Regions from separate parts of the Homo sapiens genome. Here region 2 is linked to region 1. Evidence: promoter capture Hi-C in 16 types of primary human blood cells and fetal thymus (Javierre and others, 2016). All regions are on one chromosome and are shown on one strand. Each heading gives the region's core, a stretch centred on a gene start or on the middle of the fragment in contact. The rest is flanking DNA. Distances are from core to core; before and after follow the strand shown.

What was found. Contacts are between HindIII fragments. The CHiCAGO score rates a contact against its expected background, and 5 or more counts as called.
Region 2: a contact is called between a fragment that was not itself captured here and the fragment with the promoter of GJB7 in region 1, in 1 of 17 cell types (total B cells). The highest score is 6.2, in total B cells.

The regions. Positions count from the first base shown.
Region 1 is chr6:87,327,753-87,331,753 of GRCh38, forward strand. It overlaps GJB7 (gap junction protein beta 7), which reads right to left and starts at 1,526. Exons shown (of 3, transcript NM_198568.3): 1 at 1,386-1,526. It overlaps SMIM8 (small integral membrane protein 8), which reads left to right. Exons shown (of 4, transcript NM_001042493.3): 2 at 2,940-2,960. RefSeq lists enhancers at 584-1,270, 1,271-1,955. The HindIII fragment of the contact is 5,500 bases long and covers 731-4,001 here.
Region 2 is chr6:88,892,988-88,896,921 of GRCh38, forward strand. All of the region lies in intron 6 of RNGTT (RNA guanylyltransferase and 5'-phosphatase), which reads right to left. Among named protein-coding and RNA genes, the nearest start is that of RNGTT, 69 kb to the right of the region's middle. The HindIII fragment of the contact is 1,581 bases long and covers 1,156-2,736 here.

The DNA.
Region 1 (4,001 bases), core at 276-2,775:
GAGTATCTTTGTGGCGTTCTCTGTATTTCCTGAATCTGAATGTTGGCCTGCCTTGCTAGATTGGGGAAGTTCTCCTGGATAATATCCTGCAGAGTGTTTTCCAACTTGGTTCCATTCTCCCCGTCACTTTCAGGTACACCAATCAGACGTAGATTTGGTCTTTTCACATAGTCCCATATTTCTTGGAGGCTTTGCTTGTTTCTTTTTATTCTTTTTTCTCTAAACTTCCCTTCTCGCTTCATTTCATTCACTTCATCTTCCATCACTGATACCCTTTCTTCCAGTTGATCGCATCAGCTCCTGAGGCTTCTGCATTCTTCACGTAGTTCTTGAGCCTTGGTTTTCAGCTCCATCAGCTCCTTTAAGCACTTCTCAGTATTGGTTATTCTAGTTATACATTCTTCTAAACTTTTTTCAAAGTTTTCAACTTCTTTGCCTTTGGTTTGAATTTCCTCCCGTAGCTCGGAATAATTTGATCGTGTGAAGCCTTCTCTCAGCTCGTCAAAGTCATTCTCCGTCCAACTTTGTTCCGTTGCTCGTGAGGAACTGCGTTCCTTTGGAGGAGGAGAGGCACTCTGCTTTTTAGAGTTTCCAGTTTTTCTGCTCTGTTTTTTCCCCATCTTTGTGGTTTTATCTACTTTTTGTCTTTGTTGATGGTGATGTACAGATGGGTTTTTGGTGTGGATGTCCTTTCTGTTTGTTAGTTTTCCTTCTAACAGACAGGACCGTAAGCTTCAGGTCTGTTGGAGTACCCGGCCGTGTGAGGTATCAGTCTGCCCCTGCTGGAGGCTGCCTCCCAGTTAGGCTGCTCGGGGGTCAGGGGTCAGGGACCCACTTGAGGAGGCAGTCTGCCTGTTCTCAGATCTCCAGCTGCGTGCTGGGAGAACCACTGCTCTCTTCAAAGCTGTCAGACAGGGACATTTAAGTCTGCAGAGGATACTGCTGTCTTTTTGTTTGTCTGTGCCCTGCCCCCAGAGGTGGAGCCTACAGAGGCAGGCAGGCCTCCTTGAGCTGTGGTGGGCTCCACCCAGTTCGAGCTTCCCAGCTGCTTTGTTTACCTAAGCAAGCCTGGGCAATGGCGGGCGCCCCTCCCCCAGCCTCACTGCCGCCTTGCAGTTTGATCTCAGACTGCTGTGCTAGCAATCAGCCAGACTCCGTGGGCGTAGGACCCTCCGAACCACGTGCGGGATATAATCTCGTGGTGCGCCATTTTTTAAGCCCGTCGGAAAAGCGCAGGATTCGGGTGGGAGTGACCCGATTTTCCATGTGCCGTCTGTCACCCTTTTCTTTGACTAGGAGAGGGAACTCCCTGACCCCTTGCACTTCCCGAGTGAGGCAATGCCTCGCCCTGCTTCGGCTCTCACATGGTGCGCGCACCCACTTACCTGCGCCCAGTGTCTGGCACTCCCTAGTGAGATGAACCCGGTACCTCGACTGGAAATGCAGAAATCACCCATCTTCTGCGTTGCTCACTCTGGGAGCTGTAGACCGGAGCTGTTCCTATTCAGCCATCTTGGCTCCTCCCCTCTTGTTTTGTTTTTAGACAGAGTTTCGCTCTGTCGCCCAGGCTGGAGTGCAGTGGCACGATCTCGGCTCACTGCAACCTTCACCTCCTGGGTTCAGGCGATTATTCTGCCTCAGCCTCCCGAGGAGCTGGGATTACAGGCCCGCACCACCACACCCAGCTAATTTTTGTATTTTTAGTAGAGACGGGGTTTCACCATATTGGCTACGCTAGTTTCAAACTCCTGACCTCAAGTGATCCTGACCTCAAGCAATCTACCCGCTTCGGCCTCCCAGAGTGCTGGGATTGCAGGCGTGAGCCACCCTGCCCGGCAGGAAAGATACTTTTTTAGAAAGTATGTTTTACCTTAAAAACAACATATATATAATCAATTTTTAAAACTTAAGTGATTATAATTTTTTTTCTTAAATATTGTAATATACATGCAAAGGCCTTTTATCAATTCAAGAGTAAGATGGGGTGAGGTGGTGAAATATTGGTGGGCTGGTAATTGGGAGACCTAGGTGATCGCACCCTCCTGGTAAGGACATCTCCTTGGGTCTGGGTTTCTCAGAAAGGGGTTTAGAAGGGGGAGTTAGACTAAATGGTGAGTATGAAAGTAGCTACCATTCATTGAACATCTGCATCTTTTAAAATGTGTCATCTTAATTAATGCACACATTTAGTACCTATCTATGCAATAGATAGTATTGCTCCTTTTATAAAGGTAGAAACTGAGAATCAGAGTTGTCACTTAAAGACACACAGCTTATAAGTAGCAAAGTGAGAATCTGAGGTTATGCTATGTTTCCCCTCAAGCCATGAAGTCCTCTGATTCTATCCCAAACTTGTTTAAACTAATTTAAATTATTTTTAAGGTTTTCTGCCCCAAAGTTCAAGTTAGTTTCTTAAGTATTAAGATAATGTGGCATGTGAAACTATAAAAAAGTGTATTATACTTTCATTAAAATATTTTGCCCATTTTATAATTCTCTGTCTTTTAAAGGAAATGCTTTCATTATTAATAAGGTTCCTGCTCGTTAACATTTTATGATTCTGGTCATTTTGTTTTGTCTTCTATTGAGGTGCTTATTTCTAAAATGTATGTTTGAAGATTAAGTGTTTCCCTCAAAGTAATTCTTATATTCTTTATATCTTAGTCTAATTTGCATGTACAATATATTAATAGGTAGTCAAGTATTCTGGAATAACTCCCTGAGCAAGAATTTTGCTAAAGAAGGGAAAATCATTCAAAAATGACTAGTCCTGACTCTCGGTGTAGGACCATCTGTACAGCCTCTCACATTGTGTGTTATTAATTTCAGGGGCTTACTATTCTTACACTTTGAGATGTAAATGACTCTCATGGAGTTGGGTAAACGGGCAGTCCTTTATCTTTGCTTCTTCCTTTTTCCATTGCACGCTTCCGTCACAGGAGGATGGACAGAAGAAAAAGGTAAAGAACATTTTACCAGAGAGAAACAAATGAAGCAAATACCCCTTAGTTTAGACCTTTTTTACAGGCACCTGTGAAATGTTCTACTCTCCTCTATTTTTTTTTTTAAGAAAAGATAAATAACAGTTTCTTAATCATGCATGGAAAAGGGAACAAGAAGTGGGTGATGGAAAAATGAAGAAGAAATAAGAGTGGGGCAGATTGCACAGCCAGGGGTGCCTGATTAATTATTTTGCAGGTAGGCCCGCACACAAATTAATCACAAAATTACTTAGCCAAGAGCAGTGTAATGCCAGGTTCCCAGCATCCTTGCTAATCTATGTGTATGTATGTTTTATGTCATTACTGTTTTAACACAGTAAATGAGGTTTTTAAATGCAGCTTAAAAATAAATAGATCCTCAAAGTGATAATAACTAGAGATTGGTCAATATCATATGTAAGTAAATGAGTGACAGCTGCAGTGGAAACAAAAAGTAAGAGAAGAAGGTGGAGAAACTAGTGGGAAGACTAAGAAAGTTCTGATGGAAGTGTGCTGGACATTAACTGGTTTTGTCTTAGGTGAGTGGTAATGTCAGAGTAAGTTATTGCCATGCCTTGACTTTATGATTAGTTCTGCAGCTTTTAAAATTGAAACTTGTATTAGTTTTGTACTTGAAAACAGCTAGTCAACTTAAACTTCAGGATTAAAAGTTTACTTGTTAAAATACAGATTTGTTTTCCCCAAAACAATTTATACATGTGTGAAGAAATGACTAAGGTTTTGCATTCTACCTGTTTTATTTATTCCTGGCACATCTTGAATTTATTCGTCAGCCATACTTGTACAGCTCTGTGGGCTGGCATGTGAACAAATACAGAAGAATTTTCTCGTATGTAGAAAAGATTTTGTTTTTGTTTTTGTTGTTGTTTTTAAAATAGTTATATATAACAAATTCTTGGCTGCTAAGACCCTTTCTGGTCTCAGTAATCTGAATTTTTTTTAACAAAGTATAGATGGTTGTTAAAAAGTCTTAGTTTGATAGATGGTGTAAATAAGTTC
Region 2 (3,934 bases), core at 696-3,195, 1.6 Mb after region 1:
AACCAAAATTTAGGAATTTCATAAGCCCAAGGATCAAAGAGTACCATCCCTCTACTATTATACCATTATTTCTCTGTACTAGCCAATGGCATTTCTGTTTAAAACCATTTTTATCATTAAGTACAACAGCTAAAGGAAAAAAAGAGTATTTTTAAAAGAAAGCTCAACCAGATAGATGAGGTTTGTAACATATTTACTTATTGAGTGCTCAGATAATTTCAATATCCTTAAAAAATTGTTTCTTATGCTAATTAAAAAAGAACACTTCTTTTTAGAGAGTTCAATATTAAGCATCCTAATTCTGATGGTATTAACAGCATGAGATGTTCTTTTTAAGTTTTACACAAAGAAAGTCTCTAGCTTCATTTATCAACGTGGATTTCCTATGCAAAGTTAAGAAATTTACATTAACTTCTGAAATGGGCAAAATAAAAGCAAAGGCCAAATTAACCTAAGTTACTACTAAAAACACAAACACTATTTATATTTTTAACATATAATAAAAAGGACTAACACATAGAAAATATGATCACATTCAACCAAGCACTTTCCCACAATATTACCACAGAAATATTTTAATAACATTTCTATGGGGTTGAAAAAGCTGAATATTTTTAATTTAACAGAGCCAATAAATACTGAGCATCAGTACAGATCTAACAACTACTGAGTCTGGTTATAAAAGTTAACCCCAATCACCTAGTAAATGTCTGTCATCCATTTATTGTTCTTCTTCCTTAATCTTTCCTACCATGCATCAACTTCTTTTTTAACTTCCTCTATTTTCTTCCACAACAAATAAGTAAAAAGAAAGGTAGAAGTCCAATAAAAAAAAGTATGATACACTTCATACACAAATCATCCTTGGTAACTTTAGGCTAACATAATTTGCTATTTAATGTTACTACAATAGTTCTGACAAAATACCATTTTTATATTATTCAAAATTATATAACTCCAAGAAAGACCACTAATTTTTTTATTTATTTCTAGATGCAGTTTCTTTAATGTAAGCCAATTCTGGTTATTTCTACCTAGAGCTGAAAGCAACCTGAAAATACCCATCTTCATTTTCATGTTAGAGATCTAGAAACTGTTTCAAGATTCTAAATGTGCAAAAGGTCTAAGAGGGGAGAAAATAAAATCTTTTAAACAAGCTTTGCACGTGCTGATACTGCTCATTATTTCATTATATCAGCCCTTCCAAATCTTGAATTTGCATTTTTAACCAGTGTTAGAAAATCCTGTATTTCCCTCCCTGGGAAATATGGGAAGCATGAGCCATGACATATTCCTGAAGCTAAATCTCAGGGCATCACCTCTCACAAACAAGAGATCAAGATGCTTTTCATATTTATTTTATTTTAAAAATCCACAATGGATAAAAGAGAACAATCATCCAGGATGTAGGTGCCAGACACAGGGCAGAAGGTAGCTAGAAAAGTATGCCTTAGGGAAGTTAAGGGCCTAGCCTCATCCCTACCTTGTTTTAATAGCTGTACCTAACATAAACAGCTTAGTTTTCCATTGTTGTAGCTTCCTCTGCCCCATTTACAAACATGGCACAGCCGGCATGCCTTGCAAGGCCTGAGTTGAAGGACCGCATGTACACACAGACCAGTACAGCAGTACTAGGCTAACTAGAAGGATATCATCCCCATATGTGATCTCATTCCAAGTCTACAGCTGACTACCTTCATTGTTATGTATGAGATGGTTTCACTCCTTGAAAATATGGCCACTTCAGCATAAAATAGTTAAATCTTTATAATGGAAAGATCACTAATTCTAAACAGTGGCCAGATGTGGTGACTCATGCCAGTAATCCCGGCACTTTGGGAGGCTGAGTCAGGAGGACTGCTTGAGCCCCAGAGTTCAAGACCAGCTTGGGCAACACAGTGAGACCCATCTCTATTTATAAAAATAAAAAATAAATAATTAATTTTAAAAATAAATTTTAAATAGCAATGTCTTCGGTCTGGAATTATTGTGAACATACTATAATTGAGTATTAAAGTCACTGACATTTATTTTCACTTTTCAACAAATTATTTCTGTTTGTGAAAATAAAGAAAAATCGAAAGTTAAAAAAGTATGTTTATAGAAATATATTTCATAAACAGAGTCAGCTAGCCTTAAAATTAAAATCTGCATGGCTATCACAACAGAAATGAGTGATCCTTTAGACAGAAATTTAGTAAATATTACAGAAGATGGAGGCAATTTATGTGAGAGAGAGCTCTGTGTGTGTGTGTGTGTGTGTGTGTGTGTGTGTGTGTGTGTAAAGAGAAAATGTATACAAGAATATACGTACAACAGGCATATTTTCATAATGAGGAAAATACATTCATCGTTGTATTCAAAGAAATGATCTCAGACATCAGTTCAAGGAGTAAGCAACATACCTGTAAGTCATACTCTTCCAACTTAGTAACACATGTACTCAAAAGATGAATAAAGAAGGTGTCTTAGGAATGTAAGGGGCCAAGCACAGCATCGGACATGTGCCACAGTTATAAACCCAAAGAGAACTATCAGAATTAATTACAAGGAGTCCATTACTTGAATACATAGTTATATCAATATAAGAATCAGAAAAGACTGTACTTAACAAAAATAAAGTCTCAAACCAAAAATACCTTCATTATGTCAAGAGATGTGATCTATAAAATAGTCACTCTTAGATTGCCTCTGTTAACTATCTTCAACCTCAGATGGAAATAAAAGAAAAATGAAAGCTTTTCCAACCATAAATGTAATAAGTAATTATATCTGTGCTTCTCATCCCTGTCAACCATAGGTCAACTACAGTTGACACCATCCACAATTCAACTCTTCAGTCCCCTTTCTTCTCTGATGGTTTTGTACTCACTGCTTTAAAGCCCCTTTTCCTTGGTTCATCTTATCAATAATCACCTTCCCAAAGAGTTCCAATGTAAACCCTGGAATTCCTTTTTCATAAATAACCTTCCCCATCACCTCAACCATTTTCTTGAACACCCCGTACCGTGTCTCAACTAAAAGCTAGCTCTCCCTAGACAGATCATGTCATCTTAAAGCTACTTATTCTCCCACAGCCCAAGATCCATGGCAGTAATTTAAACTACTGTTCTATACCTCCTCACTGCTTTCCTAATCTCTTTCAAAAGGCCCTCTTGTGTTTACACTAATTCCTTTCAGCTATACCACTCAGCTGTAGTAAAGCAGAAATCCACTGTGGGTACTGGCATAACAACTCTCTTTAAGGGCTGCCCTCCCAACCCACAAAGATGGGGCCTAATAGCTATTTTACATGACATTACAAGATAACATCCTACTCCAGCCAAAGTTGATGGGAGCACGAATAACCCCTAACTCAATCTGAAGCCATCAGATTCTCTCTCCTGGTAATTTGGAATTGGGATTCCGAGACAAGCAGTTAGTCTCTGCATGTGGCTAAAATTATAACAGGTTACCTTAGAAGCTTCGAGACAGTTAATGATCTCCCAGGAAAATCAGGAATCAGGAAGAGCCAATCTTGAGAGACAGAGACAATGAGAAGACTGATACAAATAAAGGGACAAAAGCAGAGATGCGATATTAAGAAGAAAGAGCAGAAACTAGGTTCTAAGTAACTTTCCAGGTCCAGGTTCCAATATTGTCCTAAAATCTGGCACATTCCAGTGCCTGAGTTCCACTAATTTACTCATGAATAAGTACCCTTAATATTTAAGCCAGTTTAAGTTATTTTCTGCTGTTTACAGTCAGAGAGTCTAAACTAGTAAAACCCTCTATCCTTTGTGTATTGAAAGATATTGCCCTACATTCATCAAAAAAAGTTGGTCTTTCTGACTATTCTAACCTCTATCATTATATTGGTAACATCAACATCCATTGAAATAACTCGACCTGTTGTACAACCTTTACAATAGGTCATCTCATTTACAATGACCCT